Linked DNA regions of Homo sapiens: regions 1, 2, 3, 5 and 6 are each linked to region 4. The links are contacts of gene promoters, found by promoter capture Hi-C in blood cells and fetal thymus (Javierre and others, 2016). All regions are on one chromosome and are shown on one strand. Each heading gives the region's core, a stretch centred on a gene start or on the middle of the fragment in contact. The rest is flanking DNA. Distances are from core to core; before and after follow the strand shown.

Region 1 (2,849 bases), core at 45-2,544, 340 kb before region 4:
TTCTTATGCCATGAAAAGAAGTTGTCTTAAAACTGGCATCATTTTCCAAGTCATTATGGCAAACAACTAACCAAATAGGTATGGGGGGAAAGTCAGTAGAGCAGCAGAAGCAATATGTCATTCCAGTCTGCTTCTTAATGGCATTCTCCCCTCTCCTATGCACAGGGCAGAGAGATCCGGAGCTGCATCCCCTGGTTATACTGCCCACCAAGGCTGAGCCAGAGAAAGCAGCCCCACTGAGGCCCATGACATCTGGATTCTTCGTCTCGTCAAATGTCAACACCCTCGTAAATGTAAAACGGACTCCAATTCTTTTCATTTTTCTTGATTGCAGGATAAGAAAGTTCCTCTGAGATTAAGACTGAGAAAGGTCTTAAAAGCCAAGACTCCAAATGGCATCAGGAAACCCAGGCTCTTCGAAATATGCAGTGAAAAATGAAACCCTTGCAAGATGAGACATTTGATAAAGAAGAAAACATCAAATTTTCTTGAAGCTTTCCTCTCACTGTAACTCTGCCTCCTTGGATTGAAGCTACAGAGAAGAATGCAGCCTGCGGGTGCTCATGCCTGAGCATCATCTCCTCTTTTCCACCTGCTGAGCTATGTCTAAATAGACATCCTCTACCTTTGGCCCAAAACTTTCTGTTCCTGAATAGAAAGAACATTCTTGTCATATCAAGAGTTCTGGGATATTCTGGGAGCAGTTTAGAGCTTTCAATCAGTATAAAGTTTCTTTTCTCATGAAAAGATCTTGCCACAGGGGATGAGAAACAAGCTATTGAGCATCTAATATATGTGTATACCATGCTAATCAATTGTACATACTTCAGTCTATTTAATTAACAGAAACACCCTCCAAGGAAGTCTTATCCCCCTCAATTAAGTAGATTAAAAATAAACGTCTTGGAGAAGATAAGGTGATTGAGCTTGTAAGAGAGCCATGCCTTTTGCACTAAACTACACAGACCTAATCCCTGTACATATATCTGCCTTCCATTCCCAAGATCTCTTGGTAGGGTCTTCCAGAGATCTTCTAGGAATGTACTTAATAACTGGTTCTTCCATTATTTTTCTACCATTGAACTTGAAGAAGATGTGACTGGGGAATAAAGGCAAAGCCAAGCATGAGAAGGTAGATCTGAAACAGGAATGTTAGACATGGAATACAAGAGGCAGAGCAAGAGTAAGCAAGATAGATAATCCTGTAATCCTTCACATGGGAGGAAAGGTTGTAGTAACAACTCCATTCTAACAAGCACAGATAGTACACAGGTTGTTTTTCATTAAACTTGTGAGAGAAAGAGACACATCTCTAGATATATTATTGGAGTGGTCAAAAATGTCTTCATGAACACAGAACTGAAAGCCTAACACATTCATGCCTAGGCCAAAGAATGTCTAGATGAGATGGCCACTGTGAGATAAACTGCAGTCTTCCACAGTGGACTATGTTTGTCCTTTATTTAAAAAAAAAAAAAGAATCTAATATGGGTGGTTTTTTTTTCCTGTACTTATCCTTACTGACATTTTTACAACAGGTTTTATGTGGTTATCTGCTTATTTATAATATACACATGAATAAATCACTTCCTCAATGCATCTACATTCCTTAAAAAGCCACATGTACTATTACTACATTAGTCATCGGTTTTTCATGGTTGATAAAGCCACTAACAATGTTGAGTTCTGATGAGATAGAATCACCTGTGCCACAATTTCCCCAAATGTTTCTCAGTAAAGCACATTCACCATATACAGATTGTAGTAACAGACTTAGAGCAAAATAATATTGCAACTGTTATGTTTTCCAAGGAACTGAATAATTGTTTTACCTAAGTAAATGAATAACATTGCCTAGTCTCGGAGATTAAAATTTCCCAAATTCATTCTGACTCAAAATGGGCAAATATGTATATAAAAATAAATTTAAAATGTGCACATATTCATTACAGTCTTTAAAAATTGCACTGGGTAGAAGCAGGACATGAAGTGTGGCCCAGTAGTCTAGATTTCCATTTATTTAGGAAAGGGTTTGCCGTGATCTAGCATGAGAGCCACAACCTAACAAAACCAGATCTGTTAGAATGCCTTGGCACAAGCTTTGTCTAGCTATTGGTAAAGCCAAAACATCTCAATTTCAGCTTTTCCCATTCAAACATTACCTTTAATTAGGTTTGTTAAAGGCAAGAGCTAACTACATTGTTTTAAATGTAGAAGACTAAGGCTACAACCTATGTTGTGTGGACCCCCAGAGAAGAGTTTAGGTCATTTTGTTGTTGCTGTTGTCCTTAACGACATGCCAACTGTCAGATCCCAAGGCTGTGAGATGCTCTCCAAGGGAGTGAGAGGGAGGTGAGGTGGTGGGGACTGAATAGAGGGCCAATGAAAACCAAACCAAGTGCCATGTTGGCACCTAGACTGGGGCCAATTCTATGGGTGCTGGAGGAGGGATCGATAGAAACAAGAGAAAAAATAAAACTCCACCTTCTTCAGACCAGTGAAAGTTAAAAGCTTGTAACACCGTCACCCCATGGAAGTCAATGGATAGTGGACCTTCAGATGGTTTTGCTGAAAGGAGATGATGAGGAAGCAAAACTAATAGTGAAGACATAAGACACCATGCTTGTTTTTGTCTCTCTCCTGTCAGACCCAAGGAGAACAGGACCAAAGCCCTGAGGAAAGCAGTCAAACAATGCTTCCACTGAAAAGAGAGAAGGATTCTTCTCCTACAAGGTAGTCTATTTTTATTCATCATTTACACACTTAGAGTTTATTGATTTCAGTTAAAATATACAATGAATCCTTCATTTGAAGGCACACTAATTGGTCAGTATTCACTGTTTAAAATT
Region 2 (2,824 bases), core at 237-2,736, 300 kb before region 4:
TAGATAGATAGATAGATAGATAGATAGATGGATCCCTAGGATCAACTACTGAAGAATAAAGCAAAGGGTAAAAATAAAAAGTCAAGGAACGATATAAAATAGAATACTAGGCCGAGGCGCGAGGATCACGAGGTCAGGAGATCCGGACCATCCTGGCTAACACGGTGAAACCCCGTCTCTACTAAAAATACAAAAAAAAAAAAAGTAGCCGGGCGTGATGGCAGGCGCCTATAGTCCCAGCTACTCAGGAGGCTGAGGCAGGAGAATGGCATGAACCCGGGAGGCGGAGCTTGCAGTGAGCCAAGATCGCACCACTGCACTCCAGCCTGGGCAACAGAGCAAGACTCCGTCTCAAAAAAAAAAAATAGAACACTAAAAATACATATGTTTCACAAACGATATGTATTTGGGCAATATAAAGAATTCTTGCAATTAAGTAGTTTTTAAACAAAACAAATAACCCAATAAAAATGGGCAAAAGATTTGGACAGACATTTCACAAAAGAAGATATAAGAATGCTCAACATGTGAGTAATCAGGAAAATAAAAGTTAAAGCTACAATGAGATACCACTATACACCCACTAGAATGGTTAAAATTAAAAAGCCTAAAAATGCCAAATGTTACTTACGATCTTGCAATTCCTCTCCTTGGTGTTCACCCAAAAGAAATGAAAACATATGTCCACCAAGTAACTTGTACAAGATTGTTCTTTGCAGCTTTATTCACAATAGCCAAAAACTAAAAGCAACATGATGTCCATTAAAAGGAAAATGGATAAACAAATTGTGGTATATTTATACAATGCAAAATGAGTCAACCAAAGCAGAAAAAATGAATTAACTACCGATACATGTGATAACTTGGATGAATCTCAAAGATAATACGTTGAGGGCAGAGGTGCAATGGGGAAGCCAGACACAAGAGTCCATTTATGTCAATTTCAAGAACAGGCAAAGACTGTATCAAAACATCTCATGCCCCTCATAAATACATACTATGTACCCACAAAAATTTTAGAAATTAAAAAGTTAACAATATGTAAATAAAAAGAATAGGCAAACAGGCAAAGCTAATTTGTCAGGATATCGAAACAGAGATTAACTTTTTTGGGAGGGAGTGGGGAACTGACTGGGAAAAAGCGCGAGGGAATTTTCTAGGGTGATGTAAAGTTCTGTGTAAATGTTCTGTGTAACTGGGATCATCAAAATTTGAGAAATGTGCATTTTACTATAATTACATTTAGGTAATGTAATTTAATAAACTTCAATAAAAATACGCCTCAAACCCCACATTCTTCCTTTTTTTTTCTTCATTTCATTGACTGTGACTTCCCTTCAAAGCTACTGAAGAAAGGGAGGCATAGATTCGTTACCACAAGTTCAGCTCAGCTCCCAACTCTGAACATTCTTTTCAGTTCTTGACTATGGTCATCCCCCAACTCCTGAAGTAGGAGGATTTTCCAAGCATAAAAGAATGACCAGGTTTAGATTTAGACCAGATTTTCTAGAACCTAAGAAAATAAGCATATGTACTTTGCTAAACTACCTGCCTATCTGATAACCTGATTTTAGTATCTGATGTAGAACTTGGAAGCCATAAATTTGAAAATCCCAAATTGCAAATTAACAAATTGAGCATTTATTTGAGGAACAAGTATCATGTTTATGAGCAGCACCCACAGAGTTTGGAAGAGAAGGTTTACCCACTAATAGCCATCCTAACTTACGTTTAAAAAAGTTCATAAACCTCTAGTCAGCTATAGAACATGGGATCATGGGGGCTGCACAGTGACTAAAAGGGATTTTAAAACTGTAAATATGCCCAGGCACAGTGGCTCACGCCTGTAATCCCAACACTTTGGGAGGGTGAGGCGGGTGGATCACCTGAGGTCAGGAGTTCGAGACCAGCCTCACCAACATGGTAAAACCCGTCTCTACTAAAGATACAAAAATTAGCCAGGTGTGGTGGCGTGTGCCTGTAATCTCAGCTACTTGGAAGGTTGAGGCACAAGAGTCACTTGAACCCAGGAGGCAGAGGTTGCAGTGAGCTGAGATCGTGCCATCGCAACTGCAGCCCGGGTGACAGAACGAGACTCTGTTTAAAAAAAAAAAAAAAAAAAAAAAAAAACTATATCCGAATTATTAAAAATTTAACCAATTAGTCAAAATAAACTTTGTGAAAGAATTGAGCCAATCATTGTTGCCAATGTGCTAAGGACTCAGGGATCAGGACAGATGGAACAAAAATGTGAACACATTTGTAGTCATATTTAGATAAGAAAATCATTCTTAATCCATATGATAAAAGTATCCTTTTATCTTTTCTAATTATCATTCTATAGATATTAATGTGAGAATACTCTCCAACTCCTTTAAAAAACCTGTTGCTCAAAATGTTCTTCATTTAAAGGAACTGGTAATGATAAGTGGGAAATGACACATACTACTGGTGTAGCTGGTGGAGCCATTGACATCTCACCTCTGTGGGTTGTTTAGAGATAAAATTCGTTTCTTTCATAGCAAGGAGCATTCTAAGGATTCTTGGTGAGGTGGTTTTGTTTTATTCCCTGGAATATGGAGAATAGCTGTGGCAGATATCCAGGGGTTGTTTTCTCCAGCATGTTCTAACATACTTTAACTTTTTTTTTTTTAATTATACTTTAAGTTCTAGGGTACATGTGCACAACGTGCAGGTTTGTTACATATGTATACATGTGCCATGTTGGTGTGCTGCACCCATTAACTCGTCATTTACATTAGGTATATTTCCTAATGCTATCCCTCCCAGCCCCCCTCACCCCACAACAGGCCCCGGTATGTGA
Region 3 (2,700 bases), core at 15-2,514, 500 kb before region 4:
TACTAAAGCCCATCTTACTTATTCCACAGACAGCCCTGGATGTTTGCCCAAACTTCCTCCTTCTTCCTGGCTCCCATATATGGGAATTTCTTATATGTTAGCCTCTGAGGGAAAGTGTGGAGATGCTGCCCTTTCACTGCCATTTATAGCTTTAGTGATCTGAGGACTCTTCTGTCTTTTGAAACTTCTATTCAAGAACAAATATTAATGATCAATTGAGACCTTAGCTAGGATTTTCAAGAATGCAAAATAGGTTTTCTTTAAAAAAAAAAACAGATAATTGATTTTTCTTCAAATTTGACCTTGCTGAGATCAGAGTGAGGGCAATAGATTTTTTTTTTTCCCCCAAGATGGAGTCTTGCTCTGTCACCCAGGCTGGAGTGCAGTGGTGTGATCTGGGCTCACTGTAACCTCCGCCTCCTGGGTTCAAGCAGTTCTCCTGCCTCAGCCTCCTGAGTAGCTGGGATTACAGGCATCCGCCACCACATCTGGCTAATTTTTATATTTTTAGTAGAGACGCAGTTTCACCATGTAGGCCAGGCTGGTCTCGAACTCCTGACCTCGTGATCTGCCTGCCTCGGCCTCCCAAAGTGCTGGGATTACAGGCATGAGCCACTGCGCCCAGCTGGCAACACATTTTTTAAGCAAGGGCTCGCCAAGTAGTAGATAGACACCACGTTAGGGTCTGGTCCTCTATATTGCGGGTCCAGAGTTTCACACAACCTGAATGCCCCCAGCCTGTGAGCACAAACACATTTACATTGGTGTTATTACTCAAAGACTGTAGGCTTGCTGCCTTCACTTATATCAGGAAGACCATGTATATCAGGAGGACCACGTATAACAGGAGGACCTTGGCCACTTGAGGAGTCTCCTCCAGGTACTTCAGAGCTCCCCACACATGTCTCAGGTGTGTTCAAGCAGGCCCTGCCCATGCTACTCCCACAGGGCCTTGGCTCATGCTGTCCCAACTCACCTGAGCAATGGGTGCATCCAGTGAGCCCTCCGGACCCCACCATCTCCACACCCTCCAAAGAATGCTGCCACTCCTTGGGAGCTTTTCCCACTGCTCAAAGCAATAGCAGAGGCCTGTATTCCATTCGGCCATTGCTCTCGATGGGTGCCCAAAAACTGGTCACAGGGCACTATGTGGTACCAGAATAGCCCTTTCCCCCTGTTTTCTCTCCCTTGCCTCCCATGTCTGTGCACAGAATTTCTTGTGGATACTTTAGCCAAAATAAGTCCAAACCCATTTTAGAGCTCTCCCTTGCCTCCCATGTCTGTGCACAGAATTTCTTGTAGATACTTTAGCCGAAATAAATCAAAACCCAATTCAGAGCCAACAACCCCACATCCTAATCAGACATACCACAAAACTCATATATATATATATATATATATATATATATATATATATATATATATATATATATATATGGTGTGTATGTGTGTGTTTCACAGTTTTGCTCTTGTCACCCAGGCTGGAGCGCAATGGCACAATCTTGGCTCACTGCAACCTCTGTGTCCCGGATTCAAGCGATTCTCCTGCCTCAGTCTCCCAAGTAGCTGGGATTACAGGCATGTGCCACCACACCCGGCTAATTTTGTATTTTTAGTAGAGACGGGGTTTCACCATGCTAGTCAGGCTGGTCTCGAACTTCTGACCTCAGGTGATCCACCTGCCTCGGCCTCCCAAAGTGCTAGGATTACAGGCATGAGCCACCACACCTGGCTGATATTCTTTAGGCTAAGCCAGGGTTAATCCATCTTATACTCAAGTTTAATTCGTGTTGTTAAACCTAGGGAGACACATGAGTATTAAAAGCCACATTTTCAATTTATTAATTTATAAGGAGAAAGTACTACCAAGTTAGCATTATCTCTCTCTTTCTCTCTTTTTTTACTATCTTCTCTTTCTCTTTCCCTCTCTCCCTCTCTTTCAATAGAAAAAGGTACTTAGGTAGTCAAACTTTTAGAGTAATTATTGGTGAGTGGCCCAAGTGAAGAATGACATAATCCAAATGGCCACCATCAATAAGTTATAGCAGCCTTTATTCATACCATTTCAATTTGAGTTTTCAGATCTCCATCATTCATGATTTACAAAACAGGAGAGCAAATCTCATCCTTTAAATTTGATTGACTTTTATGAATTTCACTTGCAAAGAAATCCTAATTCTATACCTTAGATTTCCACCCTCTTAAATCATGGCCACTCCTAGGGTTGGGGTTTGGAATAGAGAACAGTTTAGAATTTATCAAATAAGTTATTTGATAATCCCTTATTAATTAGGATTAGTCTAACTTTGTAATAAGACTTTATCGGAGTTGTCATTTTTACCTATATTCTGGTAATAGGATGTTAAAATAGAATTCTTGGTTTCAGAGCTTTTTGGATGATACGAAGGCCAATAATGACAAAAAAAAAAAAAAAGTGCCAGGTACCACCCTCCACCTCCCTGGTCTTAGAGTGTGGTGCTAGGATACCTATGCAGAGCAAGCTGAAAGATTCTAATATCAGTTCTGTCAACATTAGCCCCTCACCCACCTCTTAACTACATGAGAGAGGTTGAAGAGATCAGTGGAGAAGAATGTCATGGACAGCTTCTATGATGTCAAGTCTCTCCTGGAGGATGAAGAAAGGGGTTATCCCTCATCTCAAGTCAACTGAAGAGAAGCTTGAAGTGAAACAGGTGTAGA
Region 4 (2,824 bases), core at 107-2,606:
GGGAGTCCTGCCAGGTTTAAGTGCTAAGATGGGAGGTGAACCCCAGGGGTTTCCCCCTGCCCGTGCTGAGATCCTTATTTGGTCAAGCTTCTACCTATGCCCTGGCCTCGGAGCGAGCCCGATAGCGCTGGATCACAGCAGAGGGAGCGAGGCGGCTGACGTCCCATCCCGAAGAGATGAATGGAATTCCAGGAAGCTAGAGTCATGCTGGCTTGGGACAGTGGCTTGGAGACCAGACTTCAATGACAGAAGCACTAGGCAGCGGCACTCATGGCAATGTGTGCACCCACAGAAATGTAACCCACACCTCGGGTTCAGGAGCCGAAAAATGAAAAGAACGTTTAGGGAGGAAAAAGGGAAATACAATAATAGGCAGAGAGTAATTTATTACTCTATGGGTCTGCTCTGTAAATAGCTGAAGACTCTGGAGCCAGATGGTTCTGCAAATTCTCCAAACAGGAGTCACGTTAAGAAGCACGAGTGGGCACAAAAACTGTTTTTCAAGACACAATTTCAATTTGGCTTGTGGAAACTGGATACGAGTAAGTTTCCTTAAAATTCGAGTAGAAAGCAGCTGTCCTCCCCGGGCCCCTTGATGAGAATACGCACACCGCCCCCAAGCGGCCGGCCGAGGGAGCGCCGCGGCAGCGGGAGAGGCGTCTCTGTGGGCCCCCTGGCAGCCGCGGCAGGAAAGGGCCCGAAGGCAGCGAAGGCGAACGCGGCGCACCAACCTGCCGGCCCCGCCGACGCCGCGCTCACCTCCCTCCGGGGCGGGCGTGGGGCCAGCTCAGGACAGGCGCTCGGGGGACGCGTGTCCTCACCCCACGGGGACGGTGGAGGAGAGTCAGCGAGGGCCCGAGGGGCAGGTACTTTAACGAATGGCTCTCTTGGTGTCCCCTGCGCCCCGTCGGCCCATTTTTCTTTTTACAAAACGGGCCCAGTCTCTAGTATCCACCTCTCGCCATCAACCAGGCATTCCGGGAGATCAGCTCGCCCGAAAGCCCCTGCGCCACCCCGCGGGCCCTCCTAGGTGGTCTCCCCAGCCCCGTCCCTTTTCGGGATGCTTGCTGATCACCCCGAGCCCGCGTGGCGCAAGAGTACGAGCGCCGAGCCCGTGCGCGCCAAGGCTGCGTGGGCGGGCACCGACTTTTCTGAGAAGTTCTAGTGCTCCCAAGCCCCGACCCCCGCCCCCTTCACTTTCTAGCTGGAAAGTTGCGCGCCAGGCAGCGGGGGGCGGAGAGAGGAGCCCAGACTGGCCCCCACCTCCCGCTTCCTGCCCGGCCGCCGCCCATTGGCCGGAGGAATCCCCAGGAATGCGAGCGCCCCTTTAAAAGCGCGCGGCTCCTCCGCCTTGCCAGCCGCTGCGCCCGAGCTGGCCTGCGAGTTCAGGGCTCCTGTCGCTCTCCAGGAGCAACCTCTACTCCGGACGCACAGGCATTCCCCGCGCCCCTCCAGCCCTCGCCGCCCTCGCCACCGCTCCCGGCCGCCGCGCTCCGGTACACACAGGTAAGTCGCCCCCGGCGGCCGCCGAGGACCAAAGCTGCCCGGGACATCCACCTGGAGCGCTGAGGCTTCAGTCCCTCTGGTGGACCCCGGAACCTACACTCTCCCCGCTCGCCTACCCCAGCCCGCTCCTCTCAGCCGCTGGAGGACTCTTCAGGGCAAGGCTCCAGAGCCATCCTCTCCAGCCTTGAGGTTCACAAACCAACTCATCAGGACACCCCAAGATTTCCTTACTCTCTGAAGTCCTCCTTAAGCCTTTGTATCAGCACTCCAGGGAAGAGTCTGTACTTCCCCTGCCCTCCCTGCAACCCCAAACTACAGTTCCTGATCTTGCTCACCTTCGACTTCCCAAAAGCCCCCAAATTGTTGGTCTTGCGCCCCCCACACTTTAAAACCAGCATCTCTTTCCTCCACCTCTCTCTCTCTCTCTCTCTCTCTCTCTCATGCTCTCTGGAAAGTAATCCTGTTGTCCTTCATTTCAGCAAACGCGGGGTCAAAGAGGGATGGTCCCGGCCCTGTCCCCATGCCCAGCCCCGTTTCTGCGCACCGTCCCTCCCTGCCTAGCTGATCTCTGACCCTCGGCTCTTGTGCTTCCTGCTACAGGATCCCTGCTGGGCACCAACAGCTCCACCATGGGGCTGGCCTGGGGACTAGGCGTCCTGTTCCTGATGCATGTGTGTGGCACCAACCGCATTCCAGGTGAGTTTGTGTGGCACCTTTAGGGGAAGGAGGGACAAGGAAGAGGTGCTGGCTATCCCAGGTGTGCCCCCTCACGTGCTGTCCTCTCCCTCTTGAGCCTGACTGGACATCAGGACGCAGCTTCACTCTGATCCTGGTATTTATTCACCTCTTTCAGTGGTTGCCAGGAGTTTTCACCCCAACCCTTTGTCTCCACCCCTAAGGACTCAGCCCCCTACTGCTGGTCCCAGCCTAGAAAGCTCACTTTGTGTTCTCTCCTGTCTAACAGAGTCTGGCGGAGACAACAGCGTGTTTGACATCTTTGAACTCACCGGGGCCGCCCGCAAGGGGTCTGGGCGCCGACTGGTGAAGGGCCCCGACCCTTCCAGCCCAGCTTTCCGCATCGAGGATGCCAACCTGATCCCCCCTGTGCCTGATGACAAGTTCCAAGACCTGGTGGATGCTGTGCGGGCAGAAAAGGGTTTCCTCCTTCTGGCATCCCTGAGGCAGATGAAGAAGACCCGGGGCACGCTGCTGGCCCTGGAGCGGAAAGACCACTCTGGCCAGGTCTTCAGCGTGGTGTCCAATGGCAAGGCGGGCACCCTGGACCTCAGCCTGACCGTCCAAGGAAAGCAGCACGTGG
Region 5 (2,921 bases), core at 52-2,551, 280 kb before region 4:
TGGACCAAATTATTACAAACTAAGTGGCTTAAAAACAATAAGTTAACTTTCTCACAGTTTTGGAGGCCAGAAGTCTGAAATCAAGGTGTTAGAAGGGCTGGTTGCTTCTGAAGCCTCTGAGGGATAATTTGTTCAATGCCTGTCTCCCAGTTTGGGGTGGTAGTCAGCAATTTTTGGCATTCCTTCTCTGGTAGATGCATCGTTCTAATCTGTCTTCATCTTCACATGGTGTTCTTCTCTGCATGTGTCTCAAATCTCCCTTCTTTTCTTTCAAAAGGAGACCAATCATCGGATTTAGGGCCCACCCTAAATCCAAGATAATCTCATCTCAAGATTCTTAATTATATCAACAACGACCCTATTTCCAAATGAGGTCACATTCACGGGTACCAAGGATTAGGACTTGCACATATCTTACGGGAATCTATTCAACCCACTACACCAGCTGCATGACCTTGGGCAGGTTATGCAAACGTTAAGCCTCAATTCCTTTATCTATAAGGTATTAATAATAACAACACTAGAATTATAATCAAGATTAAACAAGATAACGTATATAAAGTGCCTAATATATTGCTTGGTTTATAGTGAATACTCAACAATTGTTAGCTGCCAGTATTACTATTATTTTCATTATTTTACTATTAAACACTCTGCAGGATTCAGAAAAAATAAAACACAAATCCTGTCCCCAAAAGTCTTACAATCCAAGAAAGGATGAATGTACATTTACGCCAGGCCTGACTTTAACTTTGTAACTCAGTATCATTAAGCACATGGGTGCTAAGACATTTTAGGGTACAGAAGACAGACTACAGGTTGATTCTTGAGGTGCTGAAAGACTAAAAACTTTCCCTCTTTAAAATCAGCATGCTCTCCTGTCCCTTTCTTCTAGAACTTCCCAAGGAAAGAGCAAGTGAAAAAGAAGCTTTTGCTATGCTCCTTCTAGTTTTCCACAATCACAAATGAAACATCACTTAAAATTGCTAGGTACAAGGGCCACTTGTGTGAGAATTTACACAGGCAGCAGCAGGCAACATCTTCCCACTAATCTTCCCCACTGGCTCTAGTTTCTTACCACTTGTCAATACATTGACATATTATAATACATGAAGGTACAAATCAAACATTATGTACACAATTCATTCTTCTCATACTGTCGGCTGCCCCAGTAAGTCAGCATTGTCACAAAATGAAATTGAATCTCAAAGGACTCAAACACCAAGTGGAATGGAGTATTAATGAGTAGAAGATCCACCAGAGTAATGTGTTAGGCCTTCTGAAGAAAAGAAAATGCAAATGACACCTGAGTACAGCACTAGTCTCACAATGACATGTTTCTTAGTAATTGAACAAAATATGTAACTATTCTCAGTTGCATTTCCCTCTCAGTCCTATGTTCATTTATTTGTGGAACCTAAAAGAAAAGTAGAGGTTTCACCCAACAGAAAAGGAGAGATATCACCCAAACACTCAACAAGATATACATACCCAAATAACTGGTTATTCAGTGAGTTCCAATTTACTAAGTAGGTTTCATGTAGTCAAAACAGTCAAATAGATTTATATATAGACATGATCTTTAATACATTTATATTAGTTATTAATTAATTTCACTCCAAATCATTGAGGCTTAATTTAAATGAACCCTTATGAAAAAGGTAATAACACTTACAAGCTTAACAAAATGAAAAGTTTGAACTGGGTGGGGAGAAAGGTTTTTGTTCATTGTTTTCTAAATTCTTAAACAAAAACCATAGACATGTAAGGAGGCTTTGGAAAATTTTAAAGCGAAAAGATCTGAGGAGGTTTTTGACCAAAAAAAACAAACCCAATCAATTTTAATGTAATGCCTAAGATCCAAGGATGTAATGACAAGAGAAAACAGAAGCCATTTGTGTAGTTTGAATTTAGCTATTTTTTCCTGAGACTTACTCTATTTGCAGTTGATGGGGTTAATGAGTGGGTCTGTTGGCCTGGTGGTTATATGATCCTATGCAAAAGCCACATGGCAAGAGAAACCATTCCCCATATGTCCTGATTTGGATCACTCCTGTGCTGTCTGCAGTAAAGGATCATTTCATCCAAATCTGTGGTCAGTGGCAAAACTATTTGTTGAACTATCCCAAAGCACAGAGCCTCACTTATTGATGAAGTGACAACTCAGGGGGCCATACAAATGGTTTTGTGTTTTTTTGTTTTTCCCAGGGAAGAGAAAATTAGTGCTGGAACTCAGGTGCATTCATTACGGAAACTGAAGTCTAAGATGTCACCACAAATATCATACAGTGAATGACTCCAAATCTGGAGGGGTGGAATCATGAAATGCAAGGGGAAATAATATTCTGGGATCCAAATACACAGCCAGAAATGGGCTTCTCTCAACTGATTTGTATGAGGTCAGAGCTTTGCTCTGGTATTTGAGTAGAAACAAAATCTTGGGAGTATGTTTCCTTTTTGGAAGTCCCCCCAGTTCTGCAGTACAGTTGTCTAGGACCAAATCTCCTTCAAGAAAATAAGGAGGGAAATTGGTTTCCAATTAAATGCTGAATGTACCATCAGAACCAAGCAAAGCTGCCTCCAACATTTAAAACATTCAAAACACTAAGCAATTTGACATACTTTTTCAAGGTGTTGGCCTTTTAGAAAGCCTGAGGAATGTTATTATAAGACACAAAGTGAGAAGCTTATGTACCATCCACCCTTTTTACCAGACTTAGAAGTTCCTCCCAGATTCTTTTAGGAGCAGAAGCAGAAGGCAACTGAAGGTGACATGAGGTGGCTCTACTCGTTTATAAGTTTAGGGTCTGTGATAAGGGCAGAAAACCATAGATGATGAAGGTACAGACCTTTTTCTCTGTCGTAATCATACTCAAGCTCTTTGCCAAGTTTAGAGGTTTAAGTACAAATGTCAAGCACCC
Region 6 (2,871 bases), core at 20-2,519, 380 kb before region 4:
GTGGCTGGGGGACTCAGAAAGCCTGGGGCTCAGCCAAGTCACATGTGCAGGAATGTCATCAGCAGACACCAATTGCACGAGACTTAGAAAAGGCCTGCCTTAAGTGGATGCAGGGAATCTCATGGTGAAGTCTTTCCCCTAAACAGTACAAGCCACTTGTCTTATCACACACATGCTAGTGATTCAGGGACCTCAGCCTATGCTAGTAGGCAGCAAGGCCACATATTTAGTTAGTGGCTGAGCAGGGATCTGAATACAGGCTGGATTTGCCCCAGAATACAAGCTCTCAATCAACTGTATTATTAGTTTTCTTTTGCTGCTGTATCAAATTGCCAGGAACTTAGTGACCTAAAACAGCACAAATTTATTATCTTACACTTCTGGAGGTCAGAAGTCCCAAGTGGGATCTACTAGGCTAAAATCAAGATGTTGACAGGGCTGCAGGCCTTCTGAAGCATCTAGGAGAAAATCCATCTCCTTGATTTTTCCAGCTTCTAGAGGCCACCTGTATTCCTTGATTCATCCTTAAGGAAGTAGCGTAGCAGCTGTAAATCTCTCTAACTCTGACCCTCTTGTCTTCCTCTTATAAGGACCCTTGTGATTATATGGAGCCTTTCTAGATAATCCAGGATAATCTGCCCATCTCAAATCCTTAATGATGTCTGAAAAGTCAAAGTAACGTATGACAGGGTCCATGGGATTAGGATGTGGATATGTTTGGGAGGAGGTTCTTCCATCTACCATTCCAGGACTCATTCAGCCTCCCCTTCATGTTGACATTGCATCTGGGGCCATAGTTTTTGACAATATACTAAGCCCCACATTCTGAGAATGTAATTTTTTCTGGGATAATTGCTTTAGAGGATGAGGTTTGGCTTCTTTTCTCAATATGGTAGGTGTGGCCCACCAGTGAAAATAATAACTGCTTGAAACTTTTCATCAGTAAAGTCATCAGAAACCCAGCATATATTTTCTGCAGTCCTGCAGGAACCACACCAGCCTCAAGAAGAGCGAGCCCCAGCTGCAAGCCCTGGCAGGACCCCTCACTCTGCTAACACTGTGGAGACCCCTCACCCCAACCCTTAATGGGAAGTCAGTATATAATTAGTCACGTTGGGTTGGGCTTTTAATTCACCAAAGCAGTAGAGTTTGATTCAGACTTTAATTCACTTGGGTTTTGTTAACATTAGACTTAAACTTGCGAAGGGACTAATGTATCGATTTTAATTCTTCTGAGAGAATTTCACAGAGGGAGGAACTATATTCAAATTTGGGGCATCCTCGCTTTCTTGGCATTTTATTCGTGGAGTTTCTCTCTGCATTTTCACTTAATTTTATTTCATAACTTCCAGTAGGTTATATTGGACAGTTACTTCCAATAGATTATATTGAACAGTTGTAGCAGGACAGCACTGAGCAAGGGAAACAGAATAGAAAGAATATTTTTGGCCTTGGAGTCCATTTAATTACTGCATTGTTCTGACCCATTTCAAAGCCTCCTGCAGAAAAATCTCATCTCAGCAGGAGGAAGCCTGCCCAAACCAGCCCTGCTGGGTAAGTTGCTTTAAGTCCAGCAGGAATCAGTGTCTGTAGTGGTGGAGATGAAGCAGGCTGCAGCATGCTATTGCTGAATGGGTTAAAGCTCCAGGACTCCAGGAGGCATCTTTACTTTACAGTCCTCTTACCTCTCTCACCTAGGGCCCCTAGAGTTGTGACAGCCAAGAAATAAGCCACATTCTCTAATATCAGGTGTGTTCATTGAAATGGTGATACTTTGAACTCTAGCTGACTTATTATTTGTCTTTTCTTTTTTCAGTTGGATCCAAATTTAAGTGAAAAATGGGGCTGTTATTTATTGGGACCCCACGAAATTCCCCCTAATTTTTTTTCTCTAGATTGTTATACTGGCCTTCTAGTGGGTCTCTTTCTTCAGTCAGTTCTTGAGGCCTGTGCTGTAGGCATTTGAGTTTGTCATCTTTTGCTTACAGCAGAAGAGCTTAACCCTTTTTGAGACAGGAACCCCTGTGAAAGTCTGGCAGATCCTGAGGACCCCTTTCAGAAATAATATCTTTAAATATGTAACATAAAATACACAAGATTACAAGTAAAATAATCACACTGAAATACAGTTCTCAAAAATGTTTTAAAACAAAATTTACCCTCAGCAGGTGATGATAATTAAGGTAGGAATTAGTGTAGCTTCAAAGAGGATATAAAACATAATTAGTTCTGTAGTTGTGAACGCTATAATTTAAAAAAATCTGCAGGGAAATCAATATAGAAATATAGAGCTTTTTTCGTGGGGGCGTGCAAATATACAATTCATATAATTTATATGAATCCCTATTATTACATTAACATGATTTAGTACTTAACCTATAAGCACCATAATTTAAATATGCTGATAGCACAAATGATATTTCAAGATATCTCTAGCCACCATAACAGAATATGGAAAGATCTATGATCTGTATTTGTAACAAAGTCATAGGAAATAATTCAGATGCGATGTGTTGCCGACATTCATAAATGAAGAAAACGGCAAATTTCAGTTAGAGGTTAGTGAAATATATGTTTCTTTCCAAACTCATGAACTCCCTCCATGGAAACCCAAGTTTTAAGCCCCATTCTTAGAGTGGCTGTCTATTGTTTATCTGCCATAGGAATACCCGCTATTCTACTGTCCCTTACACCACTTATCTATCAGATATCACTCCAGTCTTTAACACTTCACCAGTTTCATTCTTCATCATTCCTCAGTGCTGAGCCACTTTTATCCAAAGTAAATCACATTTTTAACTGTAATACACCAAATATTCAGATTTGCCCACATGCAATTCCTTCATCTTAAGTGATTGCTCCAAGTTCTGA

What was found. Contacts are between HindIII fragments. The CHiCAGO score rates a contact against its expected background, and 5 or more counts as called.
Region 1: a contact is called between a fragment that was not itself captured here and the fragment with the promoter of THBS1 in region 4, in 2 of 17 cell types (monocytes and endothelial precursors). The highest score is 12.5, in monocytes.
Region 2: a contact is called between a fragment that was not itself captured here and the fragment with the promoter of THBS1 in region 4, in 1 of 17 cell types (monocytes). The highest score is 9.7, in monocytes.
Region 3: a contact is called between a fragment that was not itself captured here and the fragment with the promoter of THBS1 in region 4, in 1 of 17 cell types (M2 macrophages). The highest score is 6.1, in M2 macrophages.
Region 5: a fragment that was not itself captured here is called in contact with the fragment with the promoter of THBS1 in region 4 in 4 of 17 cell types (monocytes, M2 macrophages, endothelial precursors and 1 more); the score reaches 14.3 in monocytes.
Region 6: a contact is called between a fragment that was not itself captured here and the fragment with the promoter of THBS1 in region 4, in 6 of 17 cell types (monocytes, endothelial precursors, M1 macrophages and 3 more). The highest score is 13.4, in monocytes.

Annotation. Positions count from the first base shown.
Region 1 is chr15:39,238,191-39,241,039 of GRCh38, forward strand. All of the region lies in intron 1 of LOC105370777 (a long non-coding RNA gene), which reads right to left. Among named protein-coding and RNA genes, the nearest start is that of LINC02915, 11 kb to the right of the region's middle. The HindIII fragment of the contact is 1,605 bases long and covers 493-2,097 here.
Region 2 is chr15:39,278,807-39,281,630 of GRCh38, forward strand. All of the region lies in intron 1 of LOC105370777 (a long non-coding RNA gene), which reads right to left. Among named protein-coding and RNA genes, the nearest start is that of LINC02915, 30 kb to the left of the region's middle. The HindIII fragment of the contact is 5,147 bases long and covers 1-2,824 here.
Region 3 is chr15:39,079,720-39,082,419 of GRCh38, forward strand. All of the region lies in intron 1 of LOC105370777 (a long non-coding RNA gene), which reads right to left. Among named protein-coding and RNA genes, the nearest start is that of LINC02915, 170 kb to the right of the region's middle. The HindIII fragment of the contact is 2,824 bases long and covers 1-2,676 here.
Region 4 is chr15:39,579,723-39,582,546 of GRCh38, forward strand. THBS1 (thrombospondin 1) reads left to right here and starts at 1,357. Exons shown (of 22, transcript NM_003246.4): 1 at 1,357-1,506; 2 at 2,107-2,202; 3 at 2,471-2,824. The coding sequence starts at 2,136. LOC124903470 reads left to right here and starts at 85. Exons shown (of 1, transcript XM_047433405.1): 1 at 85-1,272. The coding sequence starts at 596. The coding sequence ends at 1,030. RefSeq lists an enhancer at 448-1,185 and silencers at 608-837, 848-897. The HindIII fragment of the contact is 3,699 bases long and covers 86-2,824 here.
Region 5 is chr15:39,295,833-39,298,753 of GRCh38, forward strand. The region is part of intron 1 of LOC105370777 (a long non-coding RNA gene); the gene reads right to left. Among named protein-coding and RNA genes, the nearest start is that of LINC02915, 47 kb to the left of the region's middle. The HindIII fragment of the contact is 750 bases long and covers 927-1,676 here.
Region 6 is chr15:39,199,214-39,202,084 of GRCh38, forward strand. The region is part of intron 1 of LOC105370777 (a long non-coding RNA gene); the gene reads right to left. Among named protein-coding and RNA genes, the nearest start is that of LINC02915, 50 kb to the right of the region's middle. The HindIII fragment of the contact is 3,871 bases long and covers 1-2,871 here.